Linked DNA regions of Homo sapiens: all the other regions are linked to region 3. The links are contacts of gene promoters, found by promoter capture Hi-C in blood cells and fetal thymus (Javierre and others, 2016). All regions are on one chromosome and are shown on one strand. The core of a region is centred on a gene start or on the middle of the fragment in contact, and the rest is flanking DNA. Distances in the headings are between cores, read along the strand shown.

Region 1 (2,926 bases), core at 34-2,533, 180 kb after region 3:
TGTAATGCTGTGTGTAAGTCCACTTTGTGTTGCTATAAAGGAATATGTGAGACTGGGTAATTTATGAAAAAAAAAAAAAAAGAGGTTTATTTGGCTTACAGCTCTGCAGGCTATATAAGAAGCATGGCACCAGCATCTCCTCAACTTCCGGTGAGGGGCTCAGAAAGCTTTTACTTATGGTAGGAGGCTAGGGGAGTCAGTAGAGTCACATAGCGAGAGAGGCCTCCCACCAGGCCCTACCTTCAACACTGGGGATCAGATTTCAGCATGAGATTTAGAGGGGATAAACATCCAAACTGTATCACACTGGGAATCCTTGAAGCGAGGCATTCTATTAATTCTCAAATATTACATTTCAGTCAAAGCCTTGGCAATTAAACCAGTGTTTCCAATTGTATTGTGTAATACAGAGAGCAAATTCTTATTGAGCTTATGAAAATAATCATATTAAGGAGAAAGATGGAATGTTTCAATTTTTGTTTATAAAAGTGTACTCTACCAAACCATTGTGAGCTAGAGATAGCTTTAAAAAATCGTTTTCTTAAATCTGGAAAATAAAACATTAAGAGAACCAGCAATGTTTTAAATAAAAAAGCAATAAAAACCCTTACTTTTTCCTTATCAGTTTTTCAGTCTAATGTAATTAATTCTTGCTCTGTTTGATCTTAGTTGATAGTTTCACTAAACTACCAGTTTCTTTCTTAGAGTTCTACAAATTCTTACCCAATCCAGTGCTATCTCAAAGTTGTCACAAACCTGTACTTGTCAGAATTTTTTCCATTCTTTCCATGAACTTCTTTGAAGATTATGGTTCTTGCAAAAAGCTTTCAGAACAGCATCAGAATAAAGCAATTAACTGAGGACAATAAGACTTAAAATAGCCATCATTGAAAACCTGATGAGAGTCTATAATGATGCAGCTGACAAAGAAATTGTGTTATTTCTGTGGCATACAACATTTTAACATAATAACCAAAATTATGATTGATTTCTAGAAATTTAATGCAATTTTGAAAAACCTTTTTTTTTTTTTTTAAGACAGGGTCTCACACTATCACCCAGCCTGGAGTGCAGTGATGTGATCATGGCTCACTGCAGCCTCTGCCTCCTGGGCTCAGGCGATCCTCCCACCTCTCAGCCTCCCGAGTAGCTAGGACTACACCTGTGTGCCACCATGCCTGGTTATTCTTTGTATTTCTTATAGCAATAGGGTTTTACCATGTTGCCCAGGGTGGTCTTGAACTCCCGGACTCAAGCAATCTGCCCACTTCAGCCTCCCAAAGTGCAGGAATTGCAGGTGTGAGCCACCACACCTGGCCTGAATAAATATTTTAATATCGTATCTATACAAATGTAAGGAAAAGACGGTTAAACGTTATCTCTTATTGACAATATTTCCTATATAATTTAACATATCAAATAAACCTAATTGGTTTAATATCTCTCTTTTGGACTTCCAGGTGGCTGTGGTTTGGATGTTTGTCCCCCAAATCTCATGTTGAAATTTGATCCCCAATGCTGGAGGTGGGGCTTAATGGGAGGTGTTTGGGTCATGGGGATGGATCCCTCGTGAATGGCTTGGTGTCTTCTTTGCGATGAGTGAGTTTCCATTCTATTAGTTCCTGTGAGAGCTGGTTGTTTAAAAGAGCCTGTCACCTCCCCACTCCTCTCTTGCTCCCTCTGTGGCCATGTGATCTCTGTACTGTGACTCCCTTTTGCTTTCTGCCATAAGTGGAAGCTTCCTGAGGCTTTTGTCAGATGCCCAGTCTTCCAGCCAGGAAAACTGTGAGTCAAGTAAACCTCTTTTCTTCATAAATTATCCAGCCTTAGGTATTCCTTTATAGCAGCTCTAAAGGGACTAAGACAAGGAGACTTAGAATTTCATTTTGGGAAGTTTGTCAAAAAGATTCAAACACTTGATCAAAAATAGGATCACATTTTTGATCAAGTGTTTGAATATAATACTCATTTAGCCACAATGATAATTAAAATACTTCAAAAGAAGTTACATAGCTGTAGAAAATCTTAACTCTTATAATAAAGAGGAGACTCAGTTTTCCTAAGTAATTAATGACCTAAGAAAGAAAACATGAAGCACAGAAATTATTTTGACAAAATACAGAATCTTTCTTTTCTAGGCCACATACCTAAAAAGTCTCACAATTTTTTTAATAAGAAAAGATCAGTACATGTCAAGAAAACCTTGTTTTAAAATTTTAAAAATAAAGCTTAATTTTTAGAAAAACCTAAAAACAATTCTTTTTTAATTTTAGCCAACTTGATCACACTCAAAATTCCTTTCATAAGATTCATCTTCCATAAATCTTCTAAAACTTGCAAAGACCTCGTGCAGCTTGCTCAAACCTTCACTTCTTTTTCTTTTTTCTTTTTTTTTTTTTGAGATGGAGTCTCACTCTTGTTGCCTAGGCTGGAGTGCAATGGTGCGATCTCAGCTCACCGCAATCTCTGCCTCCCAGGTTCAAGCGATTCTCCTCCTTCAGCCTTCCAAGTAGCTGAGATTACAGGCATGCACCACCACGCCCAGCTGATTTTGTATTTTTAGTAGAGACAGGGTTTCTCCATGTTGGTCAGGCTGGTCTTGAACTCCCTCCCTCAGGTGATCCACCCACCTTGGCCTCCCAAAGTGCTGGGACTACAGGCATGAGCCACTGCGCCCAATCTCCTCGTTTTCATATTGAAACAACCAGTCATTCTACCTTAGGGCAAAAATTTACTTTTCTTTTTCCCTCATCTTTCTGACCACACAGAATTGTCATTCAAAAAAATTAGTCTGTTTTCAACTTTCTTTACCAAAAATATATTCTCAGACTTACAACTTTTTTGTATCTCTTTTTCCTACTTAATAGTTCCTTCCTGCCTTGTTTCCATTTTCTCCATAAATCTTTATTGTGAAAAGCCTTTAACC
Region 2 (2,960 bases), core at 132-2,631, 210 kb after region 3:
TGAATGACTAAGCAAATGAACAGAATTACTGGAGATGAGTGGCGGTTAGTGATTATTGGGACAAATAGGCCAACGGTAGTTTTCTCACCTGCGGGTTTTTAGAAATAAAGATGAATCTTCCCACCCTTGAAATGTCGTAAGAGTTGTTTAAAAGAGGTCACAGAGGTTGTATGGCTCTTGCCGTGGCTATGCCCTGTCTAAACAAGGTGGATATTTTTGCCGTATACTTGTTTATAACATTTCCAGAAATTCTGTCTGACTTACAAAGTTGTTCAGCTGTTCATTCAGTAAACATATACAGAGAGTCAACTAGGGGCCAGAACTTGTTAATAGAATGCCCCGAGCCTGGGCAGCATAAGTAGACCCCATCTCTACAAAAAAAAAAAAAAAAAATTGGCCATTGGGCACACACCTGTAGTCCCAGCTACTCAGGAGGCTGAGGTGGGAGGATTGTTTGAGCCAGGGAGGTTGAGGCTGCAGTGAGCCATGATGGCACCACTGCACTCCAGCCTGGAGGACAGAGTGAGACCCTGTCTCAAAAAAAAAAAAAAAAAAAAAAAGAATCCCCTGGGAGCCATGGGAGCACACAGAAGGAATCTCTGACCCAGCCAGGACCTACATTTGGGCTGGGAGCAGGGATATGCTGGATGGCTTTTAGGGCAGCTTAATGCCTGCAATGTATAAATTGTATACTGAACATACAAAATATTTCCCATACATTAATCTGTTTGTGTCTGGCAGCATGCGATTCCTCTGAATTCACAGAAAATTATGAACACTTCGAGTACTATTTCTGGTGCTTATTTTGGATCATGTGCACAGCAAATTTTTATGCTTCTCAACATTCAGGAAAATTAGTTTAGAATTTTATAAACTTGTCAGTTCCCTGGTTTTTAGCCTACTAAATTTTGCAGGTCTTTTGGCAGCTGACACTTATTTTAATTTGGTATTTGGTGATAAATCATATTTTTATTTGCCCCCTGCAGACAGAACGTCAGTGGCTTTTAAGTACTCAATACATGTATTGTATCATTATCGTCAACAAGGAATTGAACCGCTTGAATTAGTACATTATATATCAAGAGAGCTGACAAGACCAGCAGAGCTCCTGCCTTGTTTTTCATTTAGAAAGCTAAATGTCACTTCCAGCCTTCTTCCGGGAAACTGTCTTGTAGTGACATCGTTATGGAGGGACCTTTGAACCTCTGGAACTTTCTCAGTGTATTCTCCAGATAATGAAAAGGGTCTTTCCTAGTTTTGTCCAGAGTGCTTTTTATTTCTCCTGGCTCCGTGGGTTTGCCTTCCACATTTCTGTCTAATCTTCCTAGATGCTATATGCCCTTTGGATCTGAGCACTGGTTCAGAGATGAAGAGTGTTGAAATATTAATTCCAGCTCTGATATACAGAGCTGCAACAATTGTGCTTTATAAACTAACATAATCCTGGGATGCTTTTAGTTTGACAATCTACTGTCTTCTATAGGCAGGATGGTCTTAGTGTTGTAAGTGGTTATAAATAGCATGGTGCATTCCTATAAACAGAAAAAAATCCTCCATTAATAGTTGTTTCTGTATCAGAATTTAATCAGTTTGATAAAGTGGCCTGTTATTACTGACTCTTTGGATACTACTTGTCAATTTTGTTGTATACCTAAATGAGTTACTTTTAGCTGCAGCTAACAGAAAACTCAAATTGGTTAATAAAATGAAAAATCTTATATATTAAGAACTCCAGGGCTCTAGGGTTGGATTTGGCAGCTCAAAATGTCATCAAAGGCTCAAATTGCTTCCCTCTCTCTGCCCTGCCATATTTGATGATGGATGTGTTCTCACCAGTTCCAGGTACAACATCTATACAGAACAATGTCCAAGGGAAGAAGAGGAATTATGTTTCTTTCTATGGCTCCAGGAACCTCTCAACAGACACCCCCTCAGTGGCCAATATTGGGTCACTTGCACCAGACCCTGGCATAAGAGACAGAACTGCCATGCCTGATTTAGACTGGGAGGTACCTTAAGGAATATGGTGATAATTAAATGACATAATCCATGCAAAATCACTTAGCACAATGCTTGGCACTTAGAAAGAGCTTAATAAATTGTATTTATTATTAATGATAGTGTTATGAGTGGTTAAGAGGTTCCTCAAACCTTGTTGATACTGATTGTGTGTTGAGGAGATAAAGATAACAGGGATCACCTGGGGAAGCCCATCTACTCAAATCCTCAGAGCGCATAGCAGGACCCTACTCATAGGAAGGGAATGGGATAGGTAACTAGAACAGGACTTCAGGGAAAAGAACCAAAGCAGCACCCAGGTATATGGTCAGGAGTAGGACAAAGCAGAAAGAATGACTTGACCCTGTGTCTCAGAGCATCGGCCTGGAGCTTGTTAGATCCTTCTTTTTCAGGTTAAGATCGATCATGGGAATAAATGAGTTATTTTTAGGTGCAGCTAACAGAAAACTCAACTCAGATTGGTTTGGGAAATGAAAAATCTCATATATCAAGAACTCCAGGGCTCTAGGGTTGGATTTAACAGCTCAGTCCAACTTAGGGAATGAACCCAAAGTTGATGAAATCTACTATACTGCATGTGAATATAAATAAGAAAACACACAAAGGTTGGCAAATAAGCAGAGCCTGACGTCTCTCTTATAGGAAAAGCATTGTAGATTCTCTGTGTCATATACTTATCTCACTACTGGCAAGTAATTAGCATCCTTGGAGAAACTGTGTGATGGGTTCTTCCAAAAAAATAAAATATAAGTATCATAAGTTAGTGTTGAGTTGACACACTCTTTGTTTCCCACTGCATTGGAATCTTCTGTTTGCCTCTGAGGATTCCCATCTTTCTGGAGTTTTTTTAATCCACTTTTAGGTTTGCCCTATCTTGTCTGCATTCATATATCCAGCCTCTTGCCTCTGATTGGATTTGGTTAAACACCAGAATACTTTAC
Region 3 (3,147 bases), core at 82-2,581:
GTTGGGACAGCCCAAGTTGGGGAGAGATAGTTCTTGGGGACACAGAGGAATGCAGCCCACGGCGCCATCAATACATGTGCACTGATGTTTACAGTTGGGCTGGAAACTTTCCCCGTTTTGGTAGATTCTGGAGTTATATTCACAGGGTCTGCCCTCTGACTGAGCTGCAAAGATCACCAAAAGAGAAAGGTAGAAGGGGATAAAGTTAAGATTCCAAACCACCGCCTGAAACTCATACATATTTTCTGCTGTTAAATTCAATTTATGGTAAAGTTCCCTACAATTCCCCGGAGACTCCAGACCAGAACAATAAGTTAGTCAGGAATCACTTTTCCGTATGCGCTTTCGTTGGGCCCAGACACACTGAATTGCATTCCAGACTGCTGAAATCATGTGCCTTTCTGCCAAGCTACCAACAACAAAGCATCACCATACATGGTCTCAGAATTACTAAACTTCTGGACTATGGGGACTAGTATTTTTTTTAAAGGGGCCAAACCACAAGCATCTTACCTCTGCAGATCCCCTTCAGAGCGGTGGAGCTGGCGCCGAAGTTGCATTCCAGCCCCTTGGTGTGGTCGCAGGGCTGCGTTTTGCTGCAGTCCTCGTTGAGCTGCTTGGCGCAGACCTTACAGCAGCCGCAGCCGTCCCGGACCAGCCCGACTCCCGGCGCGCACTTGGGCGCCTCCAGGGGGCAGTGGCAGGCAGCGGGGCAGGTGGAGAGCGCCTGGAAGGGGGAGAAGATACGCGTGAGACTCGGCGCGGTGCGCAGGAGGGGCGCCGCGGCTGCCGCAGTGAGGGACGGGGGTCTCCGACCCTATCGACGGGGAGCCTCTGATCTCGTCCAGCCCGGCCACCTCGGAAGGCTGCTCCCACCAAGAGGTCCCGACACGTCTTCGGGGGGAGGGGGAGAGTGCTTAAAGAAACGGCTACCCGCAAACGATCGCGAACTTTTTAACTTTTCCTGCCGTGGGCAATCTGGGACCAGGGGAAGGGGCTGGAGAGCGGACGGGGAATAGGTGGCAAAAGGAGAGTCCAACTCACCAGCCTGGTCAAGTGGAGAAGGGTGACGACTAAGGCGAGCGCCCTGGCGATGCGGGAGCTCATTGTGGCGCGCAGGAGTAGCCCGGGGCGAGCGCGGCGACGAAGACGCCAACAAGCTGGTGTGCAGCGGACAGGCCGTGCGCAGCGGGGTCGGGGTGGCGGCGCGGTGGGCCCGGTGGGCAGGGAGGCGAGGGCTGGGCGGCGGGCGGGCGTCTTTCGCTCGAGGTCCCGGCGGAGAAGGCGCGGAGGGCGCGGGCGCTGCTCGGGGGCGCTCTCGCTCGCGGTCTGCCCAGGCGCCCCGGAGCCCGCCTTTTATACGGGCCGGCGGAGGCGCCGCGTGTTGCAGTGACGTCGGCTCTGTCTGCGCGTTCCAGAATTCTCAAACATCTCAGGAATGCTGGTTGGCGCGGGCTGCTGCCAAGCGCCTCCCCTGGCTCCATTGCACCTTTGTGTGTGTGTGTGTGTGTGTGTGTGTGTGTGTGTGTGTGTGTGTGTGTGTGTGTCTGTGTGTGTGTCTGTCTCCCAGACCCGTCAAGAAAACAGTTCGGGGGGTGTGTGTGTGTGTGTGTGTGTGTGTGTGTGTGTCCCAGACCCGTCAAGAAAACAGTTCGTTTTTTCCACCTTAAATTACGACTTATGTTGGGAAGGGTTCTTTGGGGCGTGATGGTGGTGATGGTAGTTGGAGGGTCGTGAGGGGCGAGGGGGGCCAGTTCAGAACTTTGCCTGGACTGGGTGGGTGGGAGGACCTGAGAGGGAGGAACAAAAGTCGTTTTGTTTGGTGATGCGAGTTGACCGGGCAGCCACTGAAGCCCTCACCCGGGAAGGCAGTGAGCTGTTTGCTTTTTTACAGCGAAGGTGAGAGGCAAGTTATCTGTTGAAAGAGTAGAACGGGGAAGAGGAGTGTGTCTCTGAGTCAGGAATATTTGTGGACTTCAAAGAGGCGTGTTCGGAACAAGTCCCAAAGCTTTGGCATGATGTTTATTAGCAAAGTTCAGTGAATTGCAAATTAATACCCACAGTGGCATTTATGAATGAAAAGGCGGGGGGGGGGTGGGGCGGGGGGAAACTTGCCCATCGTCTGGCAAATTCCCAGGCAGAGGTCTCCCCCACTCCTCCAGCCCTTCCCTCTTTTGGGTATGTTGTACTTGTTTGTTTTTGGAGGTTCCCACTTTAGTTCCAGCCCACTGCCTGGGTTGGAAGTCCGAGAGGAAACGAACGCGGGGAGTTCTCCGGGAGGCTGACTTATACTTCCTCACGGATGCAGGAGACGGGGTAAGCCCTTCCCGCCTCCCTCCGCGGGCAGGAGGCTATGCTAACCAAGCAGCCAGCCAGAAGTGCAGGAGACCACCGTGGAGTGGCCTGAAATCATCACCTGCAAAGACCGCAAGGCCAAACCAGATTCCAGGACCATTGTGCCCTATGAATCTCTGGGAAAAGCAGACTCCTTCAAGCTGGACATTTTGTGGGGTTTTTAACTCCTTTCCTAGGGACCACTGGAAGCCTCCCATTTTAAATGAATTGCAATGCCCTTCTCTCCAAGTACAGAAAAGAGATTTAGGATGTAATATTTTGCAGTAAAAATGTCAGCAGATTTTAAGATCCCGTTCTACTTGCAACACACTCAGTAGAAGACCCCACCACAAGACAATTTACTTGAACATCACCAATACCATTAGTGTGATTGATAAACTTTCCCTGCAAGTTTCAAAAACTTTTTGCATAATTTTAATAAAAATTATCATGTAAGACTCATATGCTCTAGGATAACTACTTATCCTTTTTAATGTTTAAGGCTATTCAGACTTCATAATTTAGCAGTCTTGCTTGAAAAGGCCCTTAGTGCTAATGCTGACTTTCCTGATAAGCACAATGAGAATCTGTCAGGATGAAAACACACTCCAGTGAAGAGAATTCTTGCAGGAAGGAGTTCAGTTTCATTCATTCCAAAGTGCCCTTTCATAAATGGAAGCAGCATTTGCTAGAGGGAGTGGGATCTCTAAAGCTCTGTTAGAGGGTTAGGGGTGGGAGACTTTTCAAGACAATGGATTGTCAGGTGTTATGCAAATACAGTGAGGAAAGTGTGGGCCCAACACGTACACAGGT

The links. The method cuts DNA at HindIII sites, captures the fragments that hold promoters and counts their contacts. A CHiCAGO score of 5 or more calls a contact.
Region 1: a contact is called between a fragment that was not itself captured here and the fragment with the promoter of CCN1 in region 3, in 1 of 17 cell types (endothelial precursors). The highest score is 5.7, in endothelial precursors.
Region 2: a contact is called between a fragment that was not itself captured here and the fragment with the promoter of CCN1 in region 3, in 1 of 17 cell types (endothelial precursors). The highest score is 6.7, in endothelial precursors.

Annotation. Positions count from the first base shown.
Region 1 is chr1:85,395,146-85,398,071 of GRCh38, reverse strand. The region is part of intron 1 of DDAH1 (dimethylarginine dimethylaminohydrolase 1); the gene reads left to right. Among named protein-coding and RNA genes, the nearest start is that of DDAH1, 69 kb to the left of the region's middle. The HindIII fragment of the contact is 914 bases long and covers 827-1,740 here.
Region 2 is chr1:85,366,656-85,369,615 of GRCh38, reverse strand. The region is part of intron 1 of DDAH1 (dimethylarginine dimethylaminohydrolase 1); the gene reads left to right. Among named protein-coding and RNA genes, the nearest start is that of BCL10, 92 kb to the right of the region's middle. The HindIII fragment of the contact is 3,452 bases long and covers 1-2,960 here.
Region 3 is chr1:85,578,945-85,582,091 of GRCh38, reverse strand. It overlaps CCN1 (cellular communication network factor 1), which reads right to left and starts at 1,331. Exons shown (of 5, transcript NM_001554.5): 1 at 1,045-1,331; 2 at 514-727; 3 at 1-164. The coding sequence starts at 1,107. RefSeq lists enhancers at 1-194, 1,461-1,510, 1,241-1,763 and silencers at 611-660, 671-720, 731-790, 1,221-1,350. The HindIII fragment of the contact is 3,344 bases long and covers 1-2,010 here.